3 separate regions of the Homo sapiens genome follow, and all the other regions are linked to region 2. Evidence: promoter capture Hi-C in human tissues and cell types (Jung and others, 2019). All regions are on one chromosome and are shown on one strand. Each heading gives the region's core, a stretch centred on a gene start or on the middle of the fragment in contact. The rest is flanking DNA. Distances are from core to core; before and after follow the strand shown. Region 1 overlaps HDAC1 (histone deacetylase 1). Region 2 holds the start of SYNC (syncoilin, intermediate filament protein). Region 3 overlaps BSDC1 (BSD domain containing 1).

Region 1 (4,414 bases), core at 841-3,340, 380 kb after region 2:
CTGAGACATCAATGAGCTACAGGAAGTCAGAGGCAGGAGGTGTGGGGCTGCATACTTATTCTCTTGCCCAGCCTTCTACTGTACCCACTGTTATCAAGATTTCCAAAAGTAGAGGAAGGAGCAGCCCTGGGGTGAGAGCAGAAGAGCTCAGTTTGGATTGTGCTGGTAAAATCTCAAGACACAGTTGAAGCTCAAGATCTACAATAACCACAAGAGTTACCAGCTCTGGTTCTGCACTAAACTTGGAGGGTGCCAAGATCCGGTGCTCTGAGGAAGAAGCATGGCTGCATGAGGGAGTGTGCAGCGGGTGGGTCTCTTCCTCACTTCCTGGGTAAACACTGGGAGGCTGTGTAAATAAGAACTTTGGTCCCTGGGCCCCGGCTGTTTATCCATTGGCAACTGATTTCCCTCTCTGGCCACTTCCTCCTGCACAGAGTTTGGCCTGCCTGCGTTTCCAAAGCTTTGTTTATACTCTTATTTGGGATATGGAGCCTCCATGGGAAGGAATGGGTGTTTTGGACGTGAGAAAAAAAAAAATATTTTTCTTCAGGCACCAAACCAACATGTAGCTCAAATGACCAGCCCTTTTATTCCTAGTCAATAAGCTATGTGATTAGAGATGGAAAGGGGGCAAATGGAAGAGCAGATACTCATGTGAGCTAATCTGTGAGGGTAGGGAAGACTTTTCCATGGGTTTTCTCTCTTTCTGCTATAAACGCTTTTCTCATTCTCACACTAGCTTTAGACTAAAGGGAAGCAATACTGGGTGAGAGGTGGAAGCAGACGTAGGCAGAGAAGGCAGTCAAATGCTCATTGCAAAGAGATGGGAAGATTAAACACTAACCTCAGGATAGTGCTTATACCTTGGCAGTGCTGGTAATGGGGTGGGGGGCTGGGGGAGTGGGAGAGAAAGGGTATGTGATCAAGGAAAGATGCCCAAGGGGGCATCAACTGTATTGATAATGTTTTCTTTCTCAGGCTGGGTATTGGGCACACATGGATGTTCATTATATTATTATTATTATTTTTTTTTTTTTGAGACAGAGTCTTGCTCTGTTGCCCAGCCTGGAGTGCAGTGGCGCAATGTCAGCTCACTGCAAGCTCCGCCTCCTGGGTTCACACCATTCTCCTGCCTCAGCCTCCCAAGTAGCTGGGACTACAGGCACCCACCACCACACCCGGCTAATTTTTTGTATTTTTAGTAGAGATGGGGTTTCACTGTGTTAGCCAGGATGGTCTTGATCTCCTGACCTCGTGATCTGCCCGCCTCGGCCTCCCAAAGTGCATTATATTATTTTTTGATGCTTTTTGTGTGTGTCTAAAATATGTTTTTTTCTTTTTCTGTTTTTTTTTTTTTTTTTTTTTTTTGAGATGGAGTCTTGCTCTGTCGCCCAGGCTGGAGTGCAGTGGCGCGATCTTGGCTCACTGCAACCTCTGCCCTCCAGGTTCAAACAATTCTCATGCCTCAGCCTCCCGAGTAGCTGGGATTACAGGCATATACCACCACACATGGCTAATTTTTGTACTTTTGGTGGAGACAGGGTTTCACCACGCTGGCCAGGCTGGTCTCAAACTCCTGGCCTCAAGTGATCCACCTGCCTCAGCCTCCCAAAGTGCTGGGATTACAGGCATGAGCTACCCTGCCTGGCCTGTGTATCTAAAATATTTTATATACACTATATTTTTTAAAACTACAGAATTGGGGGACTAGAGTTCCATTCTGCATTCTACCATCACCTTGCTGTGTGACTGGGAAAGTTTACATGTCTGTAAAATGGATGAGAATGTCTCCCAATTTTTTACCAATCCCTTTTATCATGTTTTCACCAAAAGCCCCCTAAATGCATTTATTTGTGTTCCCATTTTCACTTGCTAAATATTAGGTCAGAACTTCTGGTCAAGGCTCTCAAAGTGACCAGAAAGGGTTTATTACATTTCAGCCACAAGCAAGGAAACCTGATTTACTCGATCTTATCATAAGCATAACTTCCTAGATTAGGTGTGTGGGATGTTTTTGTGTGTGTGTGGGTTTTTTTTTTTTTCTTTTTGAGAAGGAGTCTCGCTCTGTCGCCCAAGCTGGAGTACAGTGGCGTGATCTCGGCTCACTGCAAGCTCCGCCTGTCGGGTTCACACCATTCTGGTGCCTCAGCCTCCCGAGTAGCTGGGACCACAAGCGCCTGCCACCACGTCCGGCTAATTTTTTGTAAATTTTTAGTGGAGACGGGGTTTCACCGTGTTAGCCAGGATGGTGTCTCGATGTACTGACCTCGTGATCCGCCCACCTCGGCCTCCCAAAGTGCTGGGATTACAGGCATGAGCCACCACGCCTGGCCATGTGTGTTTTTTTTTTATTGAGACGAGTTCTTGCTATGTTGCCCAGGCTGGAGTGTGGTGGCGAAATGAGACCATACCTCAATGCAGCCCTGAACTGGGCTCAAGGGATCCTCCTGCCTCAGGCTCCTGAGTAGCCAGAATCACAGGCATGTGCCACCATACACAACTAATTTTTTATTTTTATTTTTTTAAGATAAAATAAGAGATGGGGGTCTCACTATGCTGCCCAGGCTGGTCTTGAACTCCTGGCCTCAAGCTATCCCTCCTGCCTTGCCCTTCAAAGCACTGGCATTACAGGTGCATGCTACCATGTCCAGCGCCTAGGTTAGATATTGGTACATATTCTAAAAGGGCAAGTTAAGGATTAAGGAATTTGAGGCTGCAGTGAGCTATGATCTTGCCACTGTACTGTACCCTGGATGACAAAGCAAGACCCCATCTCTAAAAACAAGAATAAAAATAAAAATAATTCTTTTTTTAAAAAGGGCTCATTACTGTCTTGGTAGATACCCCAGGTTATAAAGCACTGTGTTAAGTGACATCTAAAGTCTCTGTCTACTCTGACCCTCCATAACCCTACAAATCAACTCAGTGAGGTACTCTGAAGTTCTTAGAGAGGCTTATTCTTCCTGCCCCCATTTCTGATGACAGAAAAATCCAAGACCTAATTATTTTAATTAGAAAAATTTTTTTTAGAGACCAGGTCTCACTATATTACCCAGACTGGCCTTGAACTCCTGGGCTCAAGAAATCTTCCTGCTTCAGCCTCCTAAGTAGCTGAGACTATAGGCACCCAGACTGAATTTTTTTTTTTTGAGACGGAGTCTCGCTCTGTCGCCCAGGCTGGAGTGCAGTGGCGCGATCTTGGCTCACTGCAACCTCTGCCTCCTGGGTTCAAGCAATTCTCCTGCCTCAGCCTCCTGAGTAGCTGGAATTACAGGCATGTACCACCAAACCAAGCTAATTTTTGTATTTTTAGTAGAGATGGGGTTTCACTATGTTGGCCAGGCTGGTCTCAAACTCCCGACCCCAGGTGATCTGCTTGCCTCAGCCTCCCAAACTGCTGGGATTACAGGCGTAAGCCACCACACCCAGCCAGACTGAATTTTTTAATGTACAACTTTAGAATGCTGGATTCGGAAAAATTGGCGCACCAGAGCAGAACCTGCACACTCCTCAGGGCATAGCATTTTGTCTGCCTTGATAAGTTTGTAAATAATAAAAATAGTAAGTCATAATAGCAAAAGTGATTATGCAATAGCAAAAATAGCAAAAGCAATTCATTGAGGGTAGACATATTATATATATTTAAATATATTATCTTCACTTATTCCCCCATCCTTGACTATGAAATAGGCACTAATGTCTTTTTTTTTTTGGTCTCGCTCTGTTGCCCAGGCTGGAGTGCAGTAGTACAATCATGGCTCACTGCAGCCTCGACCTTCCAGGCTCAAAAGATCCTCCCTCCTCAACCTCCTGAGTAGCTGGGACCACAGGTGTGCACCGCCATGCCCAGCTAATTTTTTTATTTTTTTGTAGAGATGAGGGTCTCACTATGTTGCCCAGGCTGGTCTCAAACTCCTGGCTGGGCTCAAGCAATCCTCCCACCTTGGGCTCCCAAAGTGCTAGGATTACAGGCATGAACCGCTGTGCCTGTCCTGTCTTCCTCTTAAAGAGGGAAAACAGGTCGGGCACAGTGGCTCAGGCCTATAATCCCAGCACTTGGGGAAGCCGAGGCTGGCATATCACCTGAGGTCGGGAGTTTGAGACCAGCCTGACTAACATGGAGAAACCTAAAAATACAAAATTAGCCGGGCGTGGTGGCACATCCCTGTAATCCCAGCTACTCAGGAGGCTGAGGCAGGATAATCGCTTGAAGCCGGGAGACGGAGGTTGTGGTGAGTAGAGATCGCCCCATTGCACTCCAGCCTGGGCAACAAGAGCGAAACTCTGTCTCAAAAAAAAGTGGCAGGGGCGGGAAATAACACCAGAGGGGCTAGGAAACCAAGGATTCAAACTAAGACATGAAAGCTTATTTTCTTACTTTAATAGCAAGTTGCTCCTCTAGTGAGAGCCCACT
Region 2 (4,441 bases), core at 1,726-4,225:
CATGAGTGAGCTGTCCTGGACGCGAGTTCTGCAACCTCTGGGCAAGCCACCTCAGCTGATGCCACGTGAAGCAGAAATGAGCTGCCTCCACCAAGCCGTGCCCAAATCACAGATCTGTGGGTAAAATAAATGATTGTTATTATTATAAAAAACAAAAACAAACAATTTTTTTAAGGTCCTACTATGTGGTAGTCCCTGTGCTGGGCTCTGGAGACACAGCAGTAAACAAGACACATAAAGTCTCTGCCCTCATGGGGCTTCCATTCTAGTGGGGAAGCAGAGAAGAAAATAATTGAAAATGAATAGTATTGGCCGGGAGCGGTGGCTCATGCCTGCAATCCCAGCACTTTGGGAGGCCGAGATGGGCGAATCACGAGGTCAGGAAATCGAGACCATCCTGGCTAACACGGTGAAACCCCGTCTCTACTAAAAATACAAAAAAATTAGCTGGGCATGATTGCAGGCACCTGTAGTCCCAGCTACTCCGGAGGCTGAGGCAGGAGAATGGCCTGAACCCAGGAGGCGGAGCTTGCAGTGAGCTGAGATTGCACCACTGCACTCCAGCTTGGGCAACAGAGTGAGACTCCGTCTCAAAAAAAAAAGAAAGAAAATGAATAGTATTGTTGCAGATTGATAAGTGCTGCACAGAAAATAAACAGGGTGACAGGGATAAACAGTAAATGGGGTGAGGCATGGTGGCTCCTGCTTGTAATCCCAGCACTTTGGGAGGCTGAGTCTGGAGGATCCCTTGAGGCCAGGAGTTTGAGATCAGCCTTAACAACATAGTGAGACCCCATCTCTATTAAATAAAATTTTACAAAACCCAACAAAACAAAAAAGCCCATAACAAAAAAATAAATGGGTGGACATTATGGGCAGGGGGTGGGGAGGCATCAGAGAAGGCCTCTGTGAGATGTGATCTGAGACCTGAAGGAGAGTAAAAGGTGGGCTGTGAAGAGCTGGAAAGGGTTTTCTAGGCAGAGGGAGCAGCAGAAAAGGCCTGGCTGGGTGTGGTGGCTCACTCCTGTAATCCCAGCACTTTGGGAGGCTGAGGTAGGAGGACTGCTTGAGCCTAGGAGTTTGAGACCAGCCTAGGCAACACAGTGAGACCTCGTCTTTACAAAAAATACAAAAATTATCCAGGTGTGGTGGTGTGCATCTGTAGTTCCAGCTACTCGGGAGGCTGAGATGGGAGGATCACCTGAGCCCAGGAGGTTGAGGCTGCCGTGAACCATGATTGCACCACCGTACTCCTGCCTGGATGACAGAGTGAGACCCTGACTGCAAGAAACAACAGCAACAAAAAAAACAACAACAAAGGCTTGGAGGTGGGGAAGTTTCTGGGACCCTGGGGAATTCAGGGTTTCAGCCTAAAGAAGCGCTGAGCAGGAGGGTAGGAGCGGGTCAGAAATTCAGTCCTAGGGACAGCCTAAGGCCAGGTCCTGGGCTGGGGGTTGGAGGGGCAGAGCCAGCTCTTCTGAATGCCACCCTTGCCGCCTGTTGCTTGGTACCACAGCAAACAGAGCCTCTGGCAGGCCTGCCCTTGCTGCCTTAGCTCTCCTCTGGCGGGCAGCAGATGTCAAATGCCCAGCAGCTGAGGCTTCGCCAGCCTCCTCCCCTGGAATAGTTCGGGGGTAAGTCAGAAAATGACCAGCAGCCTCAAAACCTGGCTTTTTCTCGTGCGTACCTTACAAGGGTATATTTGGCTGCCCTGGGTGTTAAATCTTCCACCCCCTTGCATTAGACAGAGAAATATAAATATACAGCCACAGGCAGCACACTCAGACGCGAGGATGAATGAACATTTATCAACCCCCAGTCACGCACAAGCACACAGTCAGAGTCACAAGCGGGACCATATGCATGCCCCCCACACAGAGTCAAAACCGCCAGCCCCACAAAGACACTCCACCATGGCACAATCACCACACACATTCACCCTGAGATCACACAATCACACATCCACATGCTCACACACAGACATGTACCCCACAATCACCGCAGAGTCACACAGGGGCACACAAGCCCACACACATTCAACACCACGGCATGCTTCCCCCACCGGCCTCCCAGGCACCCCAGCCCCTGGGGCTTGTTATGGTGCCAGCATTCTTCTGCGATTGAGTCAAAGACCTCCCCAGACAGGGTAGCTAAGTGGAAAAAGGAATCCGAAGGAAGAACGCCTGAAGCCCAGGTCTGGGAAGGGGCCCAGCAGCTTCTCTCTTGGGGAGAAAGACGTCAGTGCTGGTTTGACCCTCACACTAGTGGGCTGAGGACGTGGGGGGAGGTATGTCTTGAAGTTGACAGAAGTGGGCTGAGTGGGGTGACAGGTGGAGCAGGAGAGAGACCCCAGGAAGCCTCAAAGGGTGGGGCAGAAAGTGGGGTTAAATATGGACTCAATGTGATAGGCGTAAACTCCTCCGCAGTTCTCTCTAACCCCAGCCACCCAGCCCGCCCCCAGGCTCCAGGCTGTCCCCAAACGCGCGGGGTGTGGCCGTGAACCCTCCTCCCCGGCCGCGCCCTGCCCCGCCCTTCACGACAGCTGCCGGGGACAGCCCGGAGTGCCCAGAGGGTGGCTGCGGCCCTTCCCCTCTTGGGTGGGGACCAGAGGGCGCTGAGCGGCAGCGGACACCCCCAAACACTCGCGGGAGAGGGGTGCTGGCTCCCTTTGAGCAGCCCGCCCAACCCTGCCTCCACCCTCCCAGGCTGGACAGGGAAGGTGCTCCCTGGGGCTTCAGACCCCCCTTCTGACTCCCCCTGCAACGGGACCTCACGAAAGGAAGGGTGGAGAGAAGGTTCGGGAAGACGAGGGGGCTGGGAGGTTTGGAAAGACAGCTCCAGGCCCCCGTTCCCACCCCCGCCCCAGGCTGGTCCGGGAGGGGCAGCCTCTCCCCGCCCCCAGGTCCGCGCGGCCGCTCCCTCCTCCCCCGGCAGGAGCCCCGGCCAAGTGGGCGCGCCCGGCCCGGGGCCGGCCGGGATCCGGTGTCGGTTGCAGCTGGCAGTGCGGCGGGCGCGGGCGCCGGAGCGAGGGGCCCGCGGGCCCGGCTATTAATAACGCGGCCGCCAGCCCGGGGTCGCGCAGCCATGGCCAGCCCGGAGCCCCGGCGCGGCGGGGACGGCGCCGCCCAGGCCGCGAGGTAGGACAGTGCCGGGCCCGCGTCGCCGCCCCGCTGGGGAAGGGGTGCTGCTGGACGGGTTCCCTTTCCCCCCGACCGCGGGCGTCTTTCGCCTGTCTAGGGGTAGTGGTCCAGCCGGGGTGGGGCACTGGAGCCGCCTCGTGAGGGGACATCGGGGAGTCGGGCCGTCCCGGGGTCCTGGCACCTCCGTTTGTCTGTGGCTTTTTATAATACCCCTCCCCCTCCCGGGACTACATGAAAATTAACCCTTCCAGGCGAGTGGGCATCCACCGCTCAAGTGCCATTTGGCCCATAGCAGCCAAAGACACTTCTCGCTAGCCTTCATTCCTCCCTGCAAATGTCAGTTGGAGACAGAGGCCTCCCCTGCTGAAGTGGCTGTGTGGAAGCCACTTGGTGCAAGGCTGGGCATCTGCCAGCTTGAAGTTAAGAGTCTGTCAGGGCTTGTTCTCTCCCGTCTGGCCTGGGATGGGTGGGGGAAGGGTCCAGGGGCCCTCCCCACTATCCCTCCTGGCAGGGCACGGCTGATTATTGGGGGAAGGGACCTGTGGCTGAGGGGTTTGGGGTGAGGTGTATTTCTGTCCCAGGTCATACTGTGGCTCTGGGACTTCCCAGTGTACCAAGAGGTGAGGGTGCAAATACATAGCTCCCGACACCCCTTCACTGTCACACAGGGGCACAAAGCTGAGCGGTCTTACACACACACACTCACCCATACTGCTGTCCACACCTACAGCTACAGTCAGACACACGGACTCTTGCCTGCACAATGTCACATGGACTCCCAGCCACATCCCTGAACAGGGTTGGAGAGCTCTGCGGTTCTCTGGGGACAGGGACAGAGTGGCAGAGGCAGGCTGCCCAGGGCCCAAGGAAGCCCGAGGTCAGGGGCCCCAACTAAGCTGGCTTCCTCTCCTCTGAGCCTCCTGTCATCTGCTTCTTTCCCTCCTCTCTCTGTTTAAAAGAGGCGGCTGTGTGAGGGCAGCACCCAGCAGAGGCCTGGCACCATGGGTGGGGTGGTGGAGGCAGCACGATGTGTGCTAACAGCACAGCTTGGAGGTCAGGAGGCCTGGGTTTTACTTCCAGCTTTGCCATTCGACCTTGGGCAGATTTCCTCCTTGGAGTTCATCTGGTTTCTGCCTGTCTGCCCTTACAGAGCCCCACCCTAGGATATAGAGCAGAATGAGAACTCTGCTTGTCCTTAGGAAACTCACTATCAGGGAGACAGACACATGTACTTCTGTAACTGGAGCAATAAGTGTGAAGATGTGCTGCATACAGAGTGCCCTGAGAACACACATGGGGCT
Region 3 (4,543 bases), core at 1,049-3,548, 330 kb after region 2:
AATCTCAGCACTTTGGGAAGCCGAGGCGGGCAGATCACGAGGTCAGGAGATCGAGACCATCCTGGCTAACACGGTGAAACCCCATCTCTACTAAAAATATAAAAAATTAGCCGGGCGTGGTGGCGGGCGCCTGTAGTCCCAGCTACTCAGGAGGCTGAGGCAGGAGAATGGTGTGAACCCAGGAGGCAGAGCTTGCAGTGAGCCGAGATTGTGCCACTGCACTCCAGCCTGGGCGAGAGTGAGACTCCATCTCAAATAAAAAAAAAAAAAAAAAAAAAAAGATTACAAAGTCGTATGTGTTCATTTTAGGAAAAAAATTAAGGAAAATCACCTCATGAACTCATCACCTAGAGATAACTTTGCTAGTGTATTTGGATATCTTGCTCATCTCTTCTGCATGTGTGCATGCATCTATGGGCACATTTTAAAGCTGGAATCTTACTGTACATGCTTTATTGAAAGGAACTATTTGTGTAGTTTACTTCTTAGTAATAACTTTTATATATATCTTTTTAATATTACCTGTAAGAAGTCATAGCCAAATATGAATGTTTAGAGCAATGATCATCAAATAGTACAGACAGGCATCAGAATCATCTAGAGCAGAGGGTGGTAAGCTTTTTCTGTATAGGACCAGACCATAAATATTTTAGGCTTTTTGGGCCATGCAGTCAAAATTACTCATCTCCGCTCTTGCAGCATGAAAGCAGCCATAGACAGTATGTAAACAAATGATGTGACATGGCTAGAATTTTTTTTTTTTTTTTTTTTTTTTTTTTTGAGACGGAGTCTCACTCTGTCACCCAGGCTGGAGTGCAATGGCGGGATCTTGGCTCACTGCAAGCTCTGCCTCCCGGGTTCAAGCGATTCTTCTGCCTCAGCCTCCCGAGTAGCTGGGACTAACAGGCGCTTGCCACCACCCCCAGCTAATTTTTTGTATTTTTAGTAGAGATGGGGTTTCACCACATTAGCCAGGGTGGTCTCGATCTTCTGACCTCGTGATCCACCTGTCTCGGCCTCCCAAAGTGCTGGGATTACAAGCGTGAGCCACCACGCCCGGCGACATGGCTAGATTTGATCCCTGGGCCATAGTTTGCCAACCCCTGGTTTACAGAAAGGGTCTGTGACTATTGAGTGCCAACTATGTGTTCTAAAAACTTGAAATACATAAGAGAACAAAACAAAAGATCCTGGCACTCACAGGGCTTATATTCTAACTCCTCTATTAATATACAATAAACATATTAAGTCTGATTATGTAATATGTTAGAAAGTGATCACTACAATGGGAAAAAGAACAATCCAGAGCCAGGCGCAGTGGCTCACGCCTATAATCCCAGTACTTTGGGAGGTCAAAGCAGGCGGATCACCTAAGGTCAGGAGTTTGAGACCAGCCTGGCCAACATAGTGAAACCCCGTTTCTACTAAAAATACAAAAATTATCCAGGCATGGTGGCATGCCCCTGTAATCTCAGCTACTCAGGAGGCTGAGGCAGGAGAATCACTTGAACCTGCGAGGCAGAGGTTGCAGTGAGCTAGGATCGCGCCACTGCACTCCAGCCTGGGCAACAGAGCGAGACTCCGTCTCAAAAAATAAATAAATAAGTAAAAATACAAAAATTAGCTGGATGTGGTACCAGGCAGGTGCCTGTAATCCCAGCTACTCAGGAGGCTGAGGCAAGAGAATCTCTTGAACCCAGGAGGCGGAGGTTGCAGGGAGCTGAGATCGTGCCACTGCACTCCAGCCTGGGTGACAGAGCGAGACTCTGTCTCAGAAAAAAAAGAACAACTAGAGCAGAGTGAGGGTGATGATGGGTTGCTCTTTAAACTAGGATGGTCAGTGTAGGCCACATCTAGAAGGTACGATTTGAGCAATGGCATGAAGGAGGTGAAAAGTTGGTCTTGTAGATATCTGAGGATACGAGTTCCAGGTGCAGGGAACAGCCCATGCAAAAGCCCTAAGTTGGGAATGCGCCTGGTATGTTTCTGGAGGAACAAGATTAGTGTGGGCAGAATGGAGTGAGGAAGAAGAGGTCTACTGTTTGGGGGTCCGAGGGGAGGTTTTTGTTTTCTTTAGAGACAGGGTTTTGCACTGTCAACAGGCTGGACTGCAGTGGCATGATCATAGCTCACTGCAGCCTTGAACTCCTGGGCTCAAGTGATCACCACACCTCAGCCTCCTGAGTAGCTGGGACTCCTTAGGTGTGTACTACCATGCCTGGCTAATTTTTAAATTTTTTTCTAGAGACAAGGTCTCAGTTCACTGTTGATTTCCTCTGGAAGATTTCTGTGACTCTCTTGGAGCCTCTGGGCCAAAGTGCTTCTCCGCTCTTTAGTAACCTGCCTTTTCCGAGGTAATAGTTTAAGGCTGTTTGGCATGGATGTGAAGTTCTTCTCCAGCCTAACCTCTAACAGCCTACAGTGTTCCACCATGTAACTCACTGTTTACTTGTCTAATTCCCTGTCAGTGGGCTTTCAGATTGTTTCTAGGTTTCCATCACTATGACAGCACTGCAGTGAACACTCTTTGCTAAATTTCTGACTGAATCCAAGATTTTTCCTTAGAATAGATTCTTAAAAGTGGGGGCCAGGTGCGGTGGCTCACACCTATAATCCCAGCACCTTGGGAGGCCGAGGTGGCCAGATCATTGAGGTCAGGAGTTTGAAACCAGCCTGGCCAACATGGTGAAACCCCGTCTCTACTAAAAATACAAAAATTAGCCAGGTGTGTGGGGCGTGCGCCTGTAGTCCCAGCTACTTGGGAGGCTGAGGCAGGAGAATCGCTTGAACCTGGGAAGCAGAGGTTGCAGTGGGCCGGGATCACACCACTGCACTCCAGCCTGGGTGACAGCAAGACTCCATCTAAGAAAACAAAAAAAAAAAGTACGATTGGTGCGCCAGAGTGAACACAAAATGTAAAGACTTGTGTATTTGTGAGACCCTTTTGAAGCATGCTATCTCCCCAGCTACACCCTCTTCAGGTGCCCCTTCCCTGCCTCCTCCTGCTTTTCACACTGTGGCTCGTGGTTCCAGGCTCAAGCACGGACATCAGTGAGGACTGGGAGAAAGACTTTGACTTGGACATGACTGAAGAGGAGGTGCAGATGGCACTTTCCAAAGTGGATGCCTCCGGGGAGGTGAGTGGGCCTGGTGGGTCAGAGGGAAGCGAGCCTAATGGTCCTGGGTGTGAGAGCTCTCCCCAGCCAGCCCAGCTGTCCCCTCAGGAGGGTCCCTGCTCCTGTCTGAGGTGACAGGTGGTGGGAAAGGAGCTGGAGCTTCCTGCTCAGACCCACAACATTGGTCATCAGCAGGCTGCACTTTTCCTCAGTTCCAGGGTGGATAGAGGGTCAAGTTCTTGACCTTAGCTCTGTATCAAAATTGCCTGAGAAACTGCTTAAGAAAACAGATGTCATGCTGAGCGCGGTGGCTCACACCTGTAATCCCAACACTTTGGGAGGCCAAGGTGGGAGGATTGCTTGAGGCGAGGAGTTCAAGACCAGCCTGGCCAATATAGTGAGACCCCATTTCTGTTTTTGAAAAAAAAAAAAAAAGGAAAAAAGAAAACAGACATCAAACCCTGCCTGACCTTCTGAGTTGTGGTCCTCAGGTATGAGGCCTGAGTATATACTTGGCCTTGGAGACAAAAGACCAGTGTGATCAAGGGCAAGGGCAAGTTACTTAACCTGAGCCCCTGGTTCCTCATCTAAAACATGGAATTGATCATTATAAGACCTGGCTATAAGCTGTAATGAGGTGATCCATGTAGACACCTTAGGGCTATTGCCTGAGACATGGTGACCAGCACTCAGGAGACATTAGTGATAAACCCCACAAAACCCATTCCAGTTATTAAGCTCAAGGAGGCCTTAGTACTGTTATTCTTCACTACCTCTCAGAATCAAAAGTGGCTCATTTAGATTGAGAGGCTGGAACAGTCCAAAGCTCTCCCAGCTAATAAGTGACAGGACTGAGGCTGCAACCCAGACATCTGATTCATGTCAGCGTTAGTTCCACTGTCACATAAGAACCACATGAGTCCTTCCATCATGTAACTTATGAGCCTGTTAGAAAGAGGTGGACAGATTAGAGAGACATGTGAAGGGCCTCCTTTTTCATGATGGGAAACTGAAGCCTTGGGGGAGTATTTTACCTACTCAGGAGTATTTTGCACTTGTGACTACCTCACTATACCCAGGACAGAGAAAGCCCATAGTGCCCTGTCAGGCCACAGGGGCTTGCTGGCTTTTTGTGTCTTTGCAGCCCCCTTTAAAACCTGACGTGCAGTACACGTGAGCATTCTAGAACCTGCTATACCAGGGCTTAGCCGACAGCAGGCCAAGAGTAGGAACAAAGCAAGAAAACGTTCCGTGGGGAGACTTGAGCTGGGAATTAGGGTGTTGGTGCCCCTAGTGAAGACCTAGTGGGCATCTGTAGGCCACTGCCACCTCTGCTTTTGGCCACAGTGCCACTCAGGCAGTGGCCTCCATTCACCCAAAGACTAAGTAACTTGCCCTTGATTACACTGGTCTTTTGTGTCCAGGGC

What was found. Contacts are between HindIII fragments. The study calls those that stand out against the background at their distance.
Region 1: a contact is called between a fragment that was not itself captured here and the fragment with the promoter of SYNC in region 2, in 1 of the 25 tissues and cell types used here (pancreas).
Region 3: a contact is called between a fragment that was not itself captured here and the fragment with the promoter of SYNC in region 2, in 1 of the 25 tissues and cell types used here (psoas muscle).

The regions. Positions count from the first base shown.
Region 1 is chr1:32,317,854-32,322,267 of GRCh38, reverse strand. The region is part of intron 3 of HDAC1 (histone deacetylase 1); the gene reads right to left. Among named protein-coding and RNA genes, the nearest start is that of MARCKSL1, 16 kb to the left of the region's middle. The HindIII fragment of the contact is 4,777 bases long and covers 1-4,414 here.
Region 2 is chr1:32,701,304-32,705,744 of GRCh38, reverse strand. SYNC (syncoilin, intermediate filament protein) reads left to right here and starts at 2,975. Exons shown (of 5, transcript NM_030786.3): 1 at 2,975-3,137. The coding sequence starts at 3,085. RefSeq lists silencers at 2,426-2,515, 2,566-2,615 and enhancers at 1,976-2,741, 2,742-3,507. The HindIII fragment of the contact is 12,190 bases long and covers 1-4,441 here.
Region 3 is chr1:32,367,041-32,371,583 of GRCh38, reverse strand. It overlaps BSDC1 (BSD domain containing 1), which reads left to right. Exons shown (of 11, transcript NM_018045.8): 10 at 3,034-3,137. Among named protein-coding and RNA genes, the nearest start is that of TSSK3, 6.8 kb to the right of the region's middle. The HindIII fragment of the contact is 7,750 bases long and covers 1-4,543 here.